5 separate regions of the Homo sapiens genome follow, and all the other regions are linked to region 1. Evidence: promoter capture Hi-C in 16 types of primary human blood cells and fetal thymus (Javierre and others, 2016). All regions are on one chromosome and are shown on one strand. The core of a region is centred on a gene start or on the middle of the fragment in contact, and the rest is flanking DNA. Distances in the headings are between cores, read along the strand shown.

Evidence for each region. Contacts are between HindIII fragments. The CHiCAGO score rates a contact against its expected background, and 5 or more counts as called.
Region 2: a contact is called between a fragment that was not itself captured here and the fragment with the promoter of RAD51D in region 1, in 2 of 17 cell types (naive B cells and monocytes). The highest score is 5.8, in naive B cells.
Region 3: a fragment that was not itself captured here is called in contact with the fragment with the promoter of RAD51D in region 1 in 1 of 17 cell types (neutrophils); the score reaches 6.0 in neutrophils.
Region 4: a contact is called between a fragment that was not itself captured here and the fragment with the promoter of RAD51D in region 1, in 1 of 17 cell types (M2 macrophages). The highest score is 5.3, in M2 macrophages.
Region 5: a fragment that was not itself captured here is called in contact with the fragment with the promoter of RAD51D in region 1 in 6 of 17 cell types (neutrophils, monocytes, total CD8 T cells and 3 more); the score reaches 11.0 in neutrophils.

What each region holds. Positions count from the first base shown.
Region 1 is chr17:35,118,610-35,121,421 of GRCh38, reverse strand. RAD51D (RAD51 paralog D) reads left to right here and starts at 1,562. Exons shown (of 10, transcript NM_002878.4): 1 at 1,562-1,890; 2 at 2,250-2,311; 3 at 2,803-2,812. The coding sequence starts at 1,809. It overlaps RAD51L3-RFFL (RAD51L3-RFFL readthrough), which reads left to right. Exons shown (of 7, transcript NR_037714.1): 1 at 1-131. RefSeq lists an enhancer at 1,230-1,289 and a silencer at 1,500-1,699. The HindIII fragment of the contact is 14,701 bases long and covers 1-2,812 here.
Region 2 is chr17:34,527,389-34,530,088 of GRCh38, reverse strand. No RefSeq gene overlaps it. Among named protein-coding and RNA genes, the nearest start is that of TMEM132E-DT, 51 kb to the left of the region's middle. The HindIII fragment of the contact is 1,910 bases long and covers 454-2,363 here.
Region 3 is chr17:34,570,125-34,572,824 of GRCh38, reverse strand. No RefSeq gene overlaps it. Among named protein-coding and RNA genes, the nearest start is that of TMEM132E-DT, 7.9 kb to the left of the region's middle. The HindIII fragment of the contact is 2,042 bases long and covers 240-2,281 here.
Region 4 is chr17:34,440,522-34,443,221 of GRCh38, reverse strand. No RefSeq gene overlaps it. Among named protein-coding and RNA genes, the nearest start is that of CCL1, 79 kb to the right of the region's middle. The HindIII fragment of the contact is 5,517 bases long and covers 1-2,700 here.
Region 5 is chr17:34,544,502-34,547,201 of GRCh38, reverse strand. No RefSeq gene overlaps it. Among named protein-coding and RNA genes, the nearest start is that of TMEM132E-DT, 34 kb to the left of the region's middle. The HindIII fragment of the contact is 3,877 bases long and covers 1-2,700 here.

The DNA of each region.
Region 1 (2,812 bases), core at 313-2,812:
ACTGCATGAGCCCTTGGGCCCCTTCCAGCTCTAATACTCCATGGTGATGGCAGCCCTGCCCTTCTCTGAAGATCTCAAAATGCCTGACACCTGTGTCCTTCCGCACTGCCCTGGGAAGGAGAATAAGGATGGTGAGAGATGGGCGTGGGATGTAGAGGATGGTGGTGTGGCCCTGAGAGATAGGCAGTATTGGAAAGTGTCTGCTGGGGAGGGAAACTTTGTCCGTAGAAGCTAAGGCTCTCTATCCTGAAACCATAGGCTGCAGACTCCACTGTGCCCAGTCGGTTAGTGAAAGGGAAAGCCCACATGGTTCATAGGGGTTCATGGCTCACATATGATCAGACTTCACTGCTAGAATTCTAAATGTGCCACACCCACACTCCCAAGTACTTTCCTGTGTGGAGTGACAATGGTGGCAGTTGCAGTGGGATACAGAGATGGGCCACACATGATCTCTGCTCTCAGAGAAACCACCTTACAGTAGGAAAACATGTACACAGCTTCAGGGGTGGGGAGGGGGGCTGTTAGAAAGCACTGGCTTTGCAGAGTCAGATGTGGATGTGAAGTCCAGCCCTGTGCCGCCTAGCTGGGTGACCTTTGGCAAGTGATTTAACCTCACTGAACCTCAGTTTCTTCATTGGTGAAACAGGGATAAAAAATAGCGCCTCCCTCACAGATTTGTGATGAGATAACCATGTAAAGTTTTATTTCTTCCTATGGATGAGGCAAAGCAAAGGACATTTAAAAATACCAAATCATATCTTTTTGTGTGTGTTCTATATAACCAAGGTTTCTTGCCCTTAAAAAAAATAAAAAATAAAATAAAAAATAGAGGCCGGGCACGGTGGCTCACACCTGTAATCCCCGCACTTCGGGAGACCAAGGCAGGAGGATTGTTTGAGCCCAGTAGTTCGAGACCTGTGTGGGCAACATGGTGTAACCCCATTTTGTAGAGGCGAAACCTCTACAAAAAATACAAAAATTAGCTGGGCAAGGTGGCACGTGACTGTAGTCCCAGCTACTCAGGAGGCTGAGGCAGGAGGATCGCTTGAACCCAGGAGGTCGAGGCTGCAAAGCTGAGATCTCACCAGGGCACTCCAGCCTGGGCGGCCGATCGAGACCCTGTCTCAACCAAAACAAAACAAACTTTTGAAAAATAGACGCAGGTGCCCTCTGGATGCTTTGCTGCTTCTTGACACCTGTCGTATAATCTGTAATGATGTGATTTCTGCGATTCCTTTTCATTGTCTGTCTTTCCCTTGCTCACAGTAAGCTCCCTGGGGGTAAGGGCGGGTCGTCTTGTGTCGCATTTTGTCTCCAGCGGAGATCCGTTCCGTTTGGAACGGAAGCTGGCGCACAGAAGGCTCTTTAGAAGGTCGGTGTGTGTGTTGCGGCAGAAGGTAGAGGCCGAATGTGGCCGCGGGTGGCGTGTTGAGCGCGGAGGGGGTCGTGGGACTCGGGAACCTGTGCAGGCGGTGGAGAGGGGCGCAGCGGCTCTGCCCCGTGCGGCCCGCAGATGGCGCTGCAGGCCAGGTCCTCGCCGCGCGCCAGCCTGGAACCCGGAAGCGGCAGCGCGGCGCGACCCGGCGGGCGGGCTCTGGGCGCGGGAATCCCGGCGGATCCCGGGCGGGCGGATGACCCCCAGCCCTACCCTTGGTGCCGCCTCCTCCTCTCTCCTTTCTCCTCCGGCAGCCAGCGCGCCTGTGTCCTCTCTAGGAAGGGGTAGGGGAGGGGCGTCTGGAGAGGACCCCCCGCGAATGCCCACGTGACGTGCAGTCCCCCTGGGGCTGTTCCGGCCTGCGGGGAACATGGGCGTGCTCAGGGTCGGACTGTGCCCTGGCCTTACCGAGGAGATGATCCAGCTTCTCAGGAGCCACAGGATCAAGACAGGTGACCGGGTGTGCGCGTGCCAGGGAGCCGCGCGGGCCTCGCACAACCTGGGCAGGCCCCGAGGGCTGGCGCACTGCCCTGGCATACCTGCAGGGCGCTTCCCCTCCATTCCTAGAGGGCCGCGCTTCTGGAGAGGCTCAGGAAGGGTGGGCGTGGGGAGCCAAGCTCTAAAACAGGGTAGAGATTCCTACTGTGTGCAGGGCACCGCGCCGGCTCCTGCAGCTTTGTTATTTCACACTGGCCTCCTGAGACGGCCTGCCGGGGGGTAGAATTGACACCCCATTTGACAGATGAGGAAAAACCAAGTGTGGGAGGCCCCAGTCCTCTCTGCCAATCCGCTATACGTGTTTTGTTTTCAGTGGTGGACCTGGTTTCTGCAGACCTGGAAGAGGTAGCTCAGAAATGTGGCTTGTCTTACAAGGTGAGCTCCTGATCTCCACATTCCAAACCTGAGTGTCTTTTTAAAAAGTCCATCCCAAGCCAGCTGGGCGCGGTGGCTCATGCCTGTAATCCCAGCACTTTGGGAGGCCGAGGCGGGTGGGTCACTTGGAGTCAGAAGTCAGGAGTTCGAGACCATCCAGGCCAACATGGTGAAACCCTGTCCCTACTAAAAATACAAAAATTAGCTGGGTGTGGTGGCCCACGCCTACAATCCCAGCTACTCGGGAGGCTGAGGAAGGAGAATCATTTGAGCCCGGGAGGCAGAGGTTGCAGTGAGCCGAGATCGTGCTACTGCACTCCAATCTGGGCGACAGAGTGAGACCCTGTCTGAAACAACAACAATAACAAAAGTCCATCCCAAGCCAAAGGGAGCAGAGGGTTCTCAGATATTGAGAAGTAGGGTGAATGACACCCTGGGATGCCAGCTTCTACGGGCAATTTGTTGCTGAGCAGTCTGGGGCCCTTTGGCAGGCCCTGGTTG
Region 2 (2,700 bases), core at 159-2,658, 590 kb after region 1:
GATGAGAAAACTCAGTCTGGGGTGATAGAGCAATTTGCCAGGATCATACAGGGAGATTTGAGTTATTCATCTAACTCTGGCTTCTCCTTGTTCTATAATGTTGGCCAAATGACTTTGATCTCCAGGCCAGGCTGACCACCCTTTCACCTTCAAACCAGAGAGAACAATGCCCAGAGCCTTCTCAAAAGCAGACAAGGAGAAGGATAGTAAGTACACAAGTCTGCAAGGTCCTTCAGAGCTAAGATGTCCTATTTTCAATGCAATAGAATCATTTAACTGATAAACACGGAGGCAATGTCAAGATGGCAATAAATTGCCTCGCTATCAGGCAAGGCCTTTGTGTAACGTTCAAAAGAAACTAATTAAAGAAATTTTTCTTTAAAGTATATTTGACCCAGACATTTCTACATCGGCCCAGGATGCCAATCCAGTTTGAAAACTTGGTGTAAAGCTTGCATTATTAATGCACACTTGAAAAATGATATTGCATATTTGCCTTAGAACATTTTGGGAATGGGGGAGGATTAAATGTATCTCTTGAGGATTTGATCAGGGAAGGAAGTGGAGGGTGGGGTGATGCCAGAGAAGGCCAGAGAAGGTGTGCATCCTTGTAAAACATCTATCATAAAACTTGGGTCTTTATCGGAACTCCAGCGTTCAGATGACTGAGACAAATTTTAAAGAGAATTTTTTCACATCTAATACATAAAACATGATCTCCACCATCTCTCTCTCTTTAAACAGCTTTGTTAAATAGTCAGTTGAACGACATCTCCCTTGCTGCCATGAATCCATTAGGGAATCATATTTACATAGGGGATTTTACTTGACAATCTCAAATCACTTGGAAAACATCAACCTTCTCGGCCTCTCAGCACCCTTTGGGGAGCTGTATGCATACTCCTGGTTTATTTCTCGCACCCTCGTGTGGTGACAGTGGCTCCCAGAAAAGTGGACTTGGCAGAACCAGTGCCCCAACTAGTGCTTTCCAGGATACCTCTCTCAGGGCTGCCCCCTGACTCCCACTTGCTGGATTGCTTGGACCCATGGAGATGGGCATGGGAATGGGGCTGGTGCAGCTCCTGCCATCCTCATCCTCATCACTCAAATGTACACTGAGCAGGCATGGAGACTCCAACAAGGAAAGAAGCTGGCATCTCAACAATGACGGCAACAGTAAGAGTAGCTCATGTGTATTGCTTAATATGTGACCGGCAGCATGTTAAACACTTGGTGTGGGGTTGCCCAGTAAATCCTGGTGAGCCTGCGAGGTGCTTCTAGTGTTACCTTTACAGCATCGATGAAGAAGTTGAGGCCTAGAGAGCTGAAATGATGGGCTCAATTCCCACTCTTAGGAAGACAGTCTCAAGCCCTCATTTGTCTGTTTCAGTTCACACTCATCTACACTATCATGATAGACCAAAGGGCATTATATGTACAGAAGGAGTTTCAGGAAGGGAGAAAATGGAACTTGAAGCGCTTTGTCATATATGTATTCAATGTGTGCATTCAGCAAATGCCTCCAGCTTTGGCTCCCTTCCATTCCATCCTAAAAGGCTGAGATAATTTTCTTCTTTTCACTTAAAATAGCCTCTATCTAGATATGTGAAGCAGCTAGCACGGTGGCTTGCACACAGTATATGGTCAATGACGTGACTTCCCTTTTCCATTTGTAGTCCATGCACACATGCTGACACTCCCTAATTCCATGAATCGATATATTTCTTAAAACGATGCTCAGAGGAGGATTCTGAGAACACAGATGGGACAGGACTATGGCCGTGGTCACTTTAAACGTGGTTTGCCACGTCAGCAGAAGCCATTGAAAGCAGAGGTAAGGTTTCAAGGAAGGAGAGGGGCCTGTGAGGCAGGTGGAAATGGACAGAGTGGTGGATGGGCAGCAGAGTCGAGCAAGGTGAGGACGGATTTGATATTCTGCTGTGTGAAAGCAGGCAGGGCTGATGCTGAGGAAGAAAATCACCGATAGCCTAAGGGCCATCCTGTGTAGCTGTGCAGGTTGTGCACTGCAGAACTTTAGGGGGCGCTGTTCTTACCACCCGGGGAAGGGAGGCCCTAAGCGGACCCTGCACAGTCAGCAGGGGCCTAGGGAAGGACCTTGCCTGCAACATTTACTGAGTACTCATAAGAGTGGAAGCATGTGTGGTGGGGAAAGGGTTTTTAAGTTGGGCCTTTTAGTTAGAATTTTGACAGATGGAAAACAGGGAGGGGCAAAGCCCAGGTGGCTGACTCCTATTCGTCCTTTAAGGCTGAACTCATGCCTCCCCTGTGCTGGGACCCGTTCTGTGGCAGCAGCTGCGCCGCCCTTTTCCTCCTACAGCACCGGACCTACCTCACCCTAAGCTTCACCACCCCTCCCTGAAAGGGTTCATTCCCAAGTTCGTGGAGTCTCATGGTCCCCCTCCCAACCCCCCCGAAACCCACCATCCCGCCTCCACTACCCTGTAAGCTCCTAGAAAGCAGGAACTATGTTTTTCACTCCAGTAGGCAGGGATTAGCAGTGGTGCTAGCACATAGTAGGTCCTGGCACGCAGTAGGAGTTGAATGAACCAAGTAACCAATGTATAAGTACAGGAAGCTGGTGTGGGGGCCAGTCATGCGGGCAGGATGGCCAGTGTACAGCCAGGAGATGCCAAGGTCCCCAGAAGGGGCAGTGGACCGGGATGAGAACAGGCAGAGCTC
Region 3 (2,700 bases), core at 11-2,510, 550 kb after region 1:
TTGACTAAGTGAATTATTAATCACCTACTGTGTGTTTGGAGCTATGCTAGATGAATGAGATGGCCTCTGCCCTCAAGGAGTTTGCCATTGTGTGGGAGAGGGAAGTGGGCAGACACATAGGATTATGATGCACAGTGGCAGTGGGTGCTGCCCTGGAAGGAAGCACAGGAGCCCTGGGGCAGGAACGAGGGGCATCTAGTTCAGCCTAGGACATGAGTGCTGCAGGATATGAGAAAGCTTCTTGAAGGAGGTGACTTTGAGCTACACTAAGGGAAGGACAAGCTGGTTTGGGGAAGTGGGGAGAAGAAAGGGAGGGGAGGAGGCTGCTTCAAGAACAGAAAATAACATTTTAAAGCCTGGATTCAGGGAGGACATGGTGTGATCAGGAGACAGTGAGTGTTTCTGCATGGCTGGGGCATTTGAGAGCTGGGGCAAAGCTAGGAAAGGGGCTGGAGAGGAAGCAGGCCCATCGCCTCTGTGCCCAAAGATACCTGTCTGTGGTGACATGCACGCTCGTGGTTACTATACTCAGTTATACGACTTCACACGTTTGGGGCCAAAGACACTGGGAGGCTTATGAAACATTTTATCAGTGTGTTTGTGCACAGTCCCTAACCCCGACCCCACACATTTGTGCACAGTCCCTGACCCCGACCCCACATTAATGCCCAACATTATTTGGGCAGCTCAACTCTCTGCAAAATGGGTTACCTTCTGTACTGGCTGCTTACAGATCTTTTTACTCCCATTTCCCTAGAATCTCTACCTTTAGTTCCTCTTCAGGCATCACACTTCCTCCATCCCCCACCCCGTGGCCAGCCCTGACTCTAGCTGTCCCCTTTCTCTTCCTCCCTCTGGCCCACGTGGACAGTAAGCTAGGACCACCCTGGGCACCCAGCCAAGGGAGGATTTGGACTTGAGCCATGCAGGCTGGGCTCCGCTGTCCCCTCCCTCTCTTTTCCTCCCCACCCCCATACAGCTTCATTTAATTCCAGGGCAAAGCACTTGCCTAATGCGAGCCAGAGAAAGAGAGCAAGAGCCAGAGACGGAAATACAGAGACGAAGAGAGCAAGAGCCAGAGACGGAAATACAGAGACGAAGAGAGCAAGGACACTTTCTTTGCCACAGCCCAGCAGCCAAACGGCAGCGAACTCTGATGTGGTTACAAGCTCCTCAACTTCTTGTTTGTTGGCCAACTTGGCTGCCAGGTACAAGTGGGAGAGGAAGAGCCGGGGGCCCAACTTCTCTCCATGGCCTCCTGATCAGCTGCCCGTGACCTCCCAGAGTTGTTGAGCCAGCTCTGCCTGGCTCCTGGGGTTGGCAGTGCCCAGGATTCCTGAACTGGGCAGGAGGGCCAATTGGGCCTGCTGGGAGGGTGAGAGAAGGAGCCAGGCATGCTGAGGACTGCAGAGGAAGCCGGGTCTACTCTGAAGAGGGGAAGCCCTCACATCATAGACATATGGCCAGATGGGCCATTAGAGGCCATCCTGGTAACCTGTGAGCATTACAGGGGGAATGTGAGGCCCACAGCAGTGGGTATCTTGCCTGATTTCACACAGGAGCCCATTTCAGAGTTGAGATCAAAACCCAGGTTCTCTTTCCAGATCCTTTAAGATGGGAATCCTGCTTTAGGTTCCCACCCTACCTCCCAAATCTGATTCTCAGCTCACTTACGTCTTCCTCTTGCTAAAAACCCGTCTATGGCTCCACAATGCCCACAGGATTAATCCCAAATTCCCCAGATTTACATTTAGGGTTTGACACATATTTTCCAGCCCACCCTCCCCACTTTTAGCCATTCTTCCCCAAAAAGTCATGCCTTTCTCTGCCGTGGTTCCCTTTTGCTCTGCTGGAATGCCTGTTCCTCCTTCCCCATCTCTTCTTGGGGCCCTTCTGTAAAGGCTCTTTCATCCACCCCAGGTGGAATCAATCACTGTCTGCCTCATTGTTAGAATCCATCTGATCTTTGTTTAGCCTTCCTCTCATTCACGTATAAAATCTGTAGGGACTAATGTGGTTTGGATGTTTGTCCCCTCAAATCTCATGTTGAAATATAATCCCCAGTGTTGGAGGTGGGGCCTGGTGGGAGGGGTCATGGGGGGTGGATCCCTCATGAATAGCTTGTTGCTGTCTTTGAGATCATGAGTGAGTTCTTGCGAGATCTGAGTTACATGAGATCTGATTGTTTAAGAGTGTGGCACCTCCCACTTCTCTCTCTTGCTCATGCTCTCACCATGTGATGCCAGCCCCTCCCTTTTGCCTTCCTCCATGATTGGAAGCTTTCTGAGGCCCTCACCAGAAGCAGATGGCAGTGCCATGCTTCCTGTGTAGCCTGCAGAGCCAGAAGCCAATTAAACCTCTTTTCTTTATAAATTACCTCAGGTACTTCTTTATAGCAATGCAATAATTGATTAATAGAGGGACACAGATTACATTTTGTTCATCTTTAAATCTTCCATAACATTGAACACAGCGGCACACATGGGGTAAATGTTCCTAGACATTTACTGAACAAACGAATGTATGGCAAAAGAGGCAGTAGTTCAGATACCACAGCCCTGCACTCTCAGTTACTTTCTATCCAAAGCCTCTTTGAAGCTTCTCTATCATCTTGAGTGGTGTGTAAATATTATCTACACTTAGAGAGGAAGCTGACTGAACCTCCGAGAGGGAAAGTCACTTGTTCAAGGTTATGTAGCT
Region 4 (2,700 bases), core at 192-2,691, 680 kb after region 1:
GTCAAGAAACCTCTCTGAGCTTGGAGTGTCTCATCTTTAAAATGAAAATAATTGCTAATTGCTGTCTGGTAGAACTATTTTGAGGCATGTCAATAACATGCATAAAGCACTTGTCATAGAGTAGCTACACTGTAGCAATTGTGATTAGCTCCACCCCCACGCTCAGGAGGGTTCTTGCCAGTCCTCTGTTGCTTTATAGCTCCATCCTTTGGCTGTCACAGGCTCATGACAGGTGTCTATCCCTCCCACTCCAGAGTGCTGAGGAGGGGATCGCAGAGGCATGATTGCTGCCAGCCCCAGTCTGGCACCAAGGGTGGCACCCTTAGGTTCCAGCAGCCTCCCGTCACAGTGGGTAGGGCCGGAGGAGAAGAGGCCAGCACTGTCACTTGAAACACAAGGAATTGCAGGCCCAGATAGGAAACTGTCTAGCCCAAGGTCATCCAGCAAATTGCTGGCAGGTCGTTTTACCCATTTTAGCAGATGGCTAAAGCCTGCCTCTTGTATTTATTTTAAGCCTATCTTTTTAATGACTGAGAACCAGGAGATGACGCCAATGGTGACATTGATGAGGCAGAGAAGGAAAGGGGTTGTCAGCATGGAGGTGGAGTAACCCAGCGCTGGCCTGGGGGTCAGGACACCTGGACTCTGCCCTGAGCTCTCTCCAGTCCTGGCTGCTCTGTGACCTTGGGCTGATCCCTTCTCTTCCCGGACCTTTGTTCCCTCCTCAGTGAAATGGGGATGGTAATCACTGCCCCGCTGACCTCTCAGGCTGGTGTTGAGGATTGTCTGAGATGATGGATCTGAAAGTGCTTTGTAAGCAGGAAAGCGTGAAGCAAATGTAGGAGATTATTAACATTAATATTAATGAACTCGCTCATGGTTGGCTACTGGCCACAGAAAAGAGAATGTTGGGAGTCTGGGGAAGATGAACTTTTCCAAGCCTCTGTAGGGTTTGCAGAGGAGTCGGGGATGACAATTCTCTGCATGATCATTTCTTAAACTCCTGTAGATACAAGTACTTGAGGAAAAATCTCTTGAGATTTTCAGCCAGGGAAACTGGTAATGGGTGCAGAGTGTACTAGGAGCAGGTATAGGAGGGGCCTCTCTCCCCCTGGCAGGGGCAGTGACAGAGAACACTCACTTTCTTATCTAAAGACTGATCTCTGGGCTCAGGAGGCATCTAGGATTGAGGGCTGAGCTGCCTTCTTGGACCCCACTGAAGGTAGTGGGGTTTCCTTCTCTATTCACATCCCCTCTACTTTCCTTAGAAGACTAACTCATGCTTCCTTGGGAAAATTGCCGGGTGGAAGAGATGAGGACAAAGGCCGGCTCTCGTTCCCTCTCCCTCCTCCTCCTCTCCCCATACACCCGCAAGTGATTGAGCCTTGCTTCTATAGCTGTAGCTGTGCATAGAGTTCATTTGCATCCTGGGTCATCCATCCATCCATCTGTCCATCTGTCCATCCATCCATCCATCCATCCATCCATCCATCCCTCCATCCATCTGTCCATCCAGTCATCCATCCAACCATATGTTCAGTAAGGCTTTGTTAAAGTCTAAGATATGCCAGGACCTGGACCCATAGGTGAATGAGACCCTGTCCCTGTGGTTAGGGCTCAAAGGCTGCTGCAGGATCCAGATGACGGACCTGCAAACAGGCCACTATACTACCTGCCAAGATTTGGTGCTATGGGAACATACTGGAGCCTGGGGATGAGGGGAGAGTTGTAGGAGAGATTTCCTGGGGGAAGTTGTGTCTAAGCTGAACCTCAAGGGAGGATGTGCATGCTCATGCCCTCATTACTTAGCTCACATGGAAAATTCCAGTTTCTTGTCTCATAGAAGAAGGAGGCGTAGATCCGTGAGGCTTGGAGGAACTCTGCTTGTGGAGAGAGTCCCAAGGAGATGCAGTACCTGATGATATAAAGCCTTCCACAGCTTCTGCCCGTAGAGCTTGGGAGTCAGAATCCCAAGAGGGACTTTGAACACCAGCTCTGCCTCAAACAGACTGTGCCCTCAGGCCTCCTCCCTAAAGATGGGAGCAGATCGCAAGGATCTAAGAGCTGCTTGTGAACAGCACTCCAGAAAGGGTAAAACATATTGTCATTCCTTATCATTGTGCTGTTCAGCTGCTGGAGGTGTTTTGGTATACCCAGCAGGACTGAGGCTTGGAGAGCTCTGCTGGAGTTTCTTTCAATATTTGTTTAATTTGTACCAATCATGAGGTTTAAGAATGTGAAGATCTACAAGATGTCTTTGCATTATATGTGCAGTGTGTGTGTGTGTGTGTTTGTGTGTGTGTGAGAGAGAGAGAGAAGAGAGAGAGAGAGAGAATGAGGCCTGAATGCTCACTTAGGACTGCAAGGAGCTCTGTGTGTGTGAAGTCCCCAGTGCACATATGCAGACTGGTGTGCACATACCCACACACTTCCTTCTGTCCCACAGCATCACCACACCCTTGACAATTCATGTTACCCCATCCCCTGACTGCCCTGGAGTAGCCCCAACTCACACTCACTTTGTTTCCAGGTATCTATCTCATTGGCACCTCAGAGCTAACATCCTGTTCCATGTAGTACAAACTTAAATGCAGACTTAGCAAATTACCCATCTATGCAAATGGCCCTATTCTAAGTAGACTTTGATGAGTGCTAGAATAAGGAGCCCAAATTCTGCACAGTGTGAGGGAGAGAATATTC
Region 5 (2,700 bases), core at 177-2,676, 570 kb after region 1:
AACTGAGTGTCATAGAGGCAAGGTGACACACCCAAAGTCAAGCTCAAAGGGGCCAAGAAAGGACAAGACCTCAGTCCCTCTTTCTCCCATCCAATGCTGAGTTCACAGGCCACTTCTGGACCCAAGTGCCTGAGATAGGCTTCCTGACCCAAAGTCAGAGCTTTGCATTCCAGTGCCCCTACCCTCCAATACCCCAGTAGAGCCATTTCCAGAATGTTCAGAACCCAGGGACAGACTGGTCATCCCTCAGTAAAGCCTGGAAAGACAGAGACTTGGGAAAGTGGGGAGACAAGTGGCAGCTCCCTACCCTGGATGCTAGTTTTCACTGATGCTAATCAACAGTAACCCCTCAATTCTCATCCCCCCGGTCCTTAGAGCTTAGAGGAACTGGGTCTCCTCCTCCCTCTGTTTATACCCCAAACCCTTCAGGTTACCTTTCTGTGGCTTAATTTCCTCCTTCCATCAGCCCTCAATGGCTCTTCCAGCCTGGTTTGGCCTGGTTAAAATCATGTCCAGACTGGCTTGGAGTCCTCTCAGCTGGTGGCTGGATGGAGAGGGACTGATGTGCAGTCAGTGATCTGGATTCCAACTGGGGTTCTACCAAAACTAGCTGTGTGACTGTGGCCAAGTTATTGAACCTCTCTGAGCTTCTTAAATGGGAGATGCAGAGAATAAAATGAGACAAAACAAGTGAAGACCTAGGAAGGAGACACAGACCAGGTGCTGCACACATGTTGGATATGTTGCTTTCACCTTTTGAAAGGGCATTTCCCACATCTTACTTCACCATCTTCTTTGACTCCCCACCATGGTTGATCTCTTTAGAAATCCTCATAACCTGAAGATGGAGCCGGCTGGCATACCGCACAACTTAAGGGGGCACCATTTATCTTATTGAATAGCACATGTGAATGGCACATCCTGGAGTCAGGGGGCTCCATGTGAGGCCCCCGGCGGGGAAGTGGCATGGAAACCCTGGGTCTTTAGCATCTGATAACTCTCTTGGGCTTGTTTTTCCTGCTGAAGTTCCATTCCCTTCTCTTGGCAATGATACCTGTTATCTTGTCTGGTTCTTTATGTATTTTGAACTTTACTCTGAGAACTGAGATTTCAACTTGATTCCCATAATTTAGACTTCAGCTTTTGGAACAACTTCTGTCTTCACCAGTGTGTCCTGCTTTGATTTCCAAGCACGTAAGATTCTAGAGACACATTTTTTGGTCTATTTCAATTGCACATTCATAGGACTTGTAAATATAAAAGAGGCCCATAAACTGAGAGGTGCTGGGTAATGGCCTTTAAAACAGTAGGTTTTATATCAGAATCTGAACAGTGGTCCCTAAATCGGGCATCTGGGTTTGTGCCCTCCAAGTCTTCAAACCCAAGGTGAGATTCTGCGTGTGCTTCAAGATGTGTCTGGAGGATCATAATGCAGGAAATACAGAGCCCAGTTTTATGTTCATCTTTATCTTTATATTTTGAACCCTGGCCCTTCTACTTCCTGACTGTGTGACCTTACACACACTCCATCACTTCACTGAGGCTCAACTTTCTCATTTGTAAAATGAGGCTAATAATTACCCACTGGCATTATAGGGCTGGGGGACAGATATCTGAGATAATTTTTGTAAAATGGCTGCCATTCCATACACCCCAAGATGTTGCTTCTTGCCCCCTCCTCATATCACAGAAAAGAAAGTGGAAGCTCAGGGAGGTCACGTTGCCAAAGATTGTTCAGGCAGCTGGGATTCACATCCAGACCTGCCTGACTCTGAAGTTCATGCTTCACTTTCCAACCTAGCTTTATTGAAATAATTTTTAAAATTGTAGTAAAGTATACACAGCATAAAATTTACTACTTTAACCATTTTTGAGGGCGTAGTCCAGTGGCATGAAGTATATTCACATCGTTGTGCAACCATCACTACCATCCATCTCCAGAACTTTTTTATCTTCCCAGATTGAAACTCTGTCCCCATTATACAGTAACTCCCCATTCCTCCCTCCCCCAGCCCTGGTATCCACCTTTTTACTTTCTGTTGCTGTGAAGTTGACTATTCTGGGTACCTCATATTGGTGGAGTCATGCAATCTTTGTCCTTTTGCGACTGGCTTGTTTCACTTAGCTAATGTCATCAAGGTTCATCCATATTGCAGCATGTGTCAGAAATTCCTGTATTTTAAAAGGCTGAATAATTTTCTGTTGTATGGATGTACCACATTTTATTTACGTAAGGATATGTTTTCATGCACAAAATGAGCCTGGTACACAGTAGCTGCAAATCATGATATTATCATTATTGGTAATTATCATTCAGCTACTTGACTATTACAACATTTGCTGTAAAATTCAATTCTTCTAACAATATTAATAGTAGTAGTGACAATAATAAATGCTTACCAAATAGAGACATCCATCCTTTTTCCATCTGAGGATTTCCTTTGTCCAGTAGGCTCAAACTCTGGCATGCCTCAGAGACACACAGGGAGTTTGCTAACCACACAGATGCCCTAAACCATCCTGATGTTTTTATTGTCAACATTCTCCCTGAAGTCTGTTGTGCACCAAAGTTCTGAGCACCACTGTCCTGGTCTTTGAATCTTTCCATGGCCTACCATCCCTGACAGTGTCTGGAAAGATGCCACAAGACCAAGGTTGGGAGGATGTGTGGGCAGAGGAGTGGAAGCCCGGAGGCTCCTG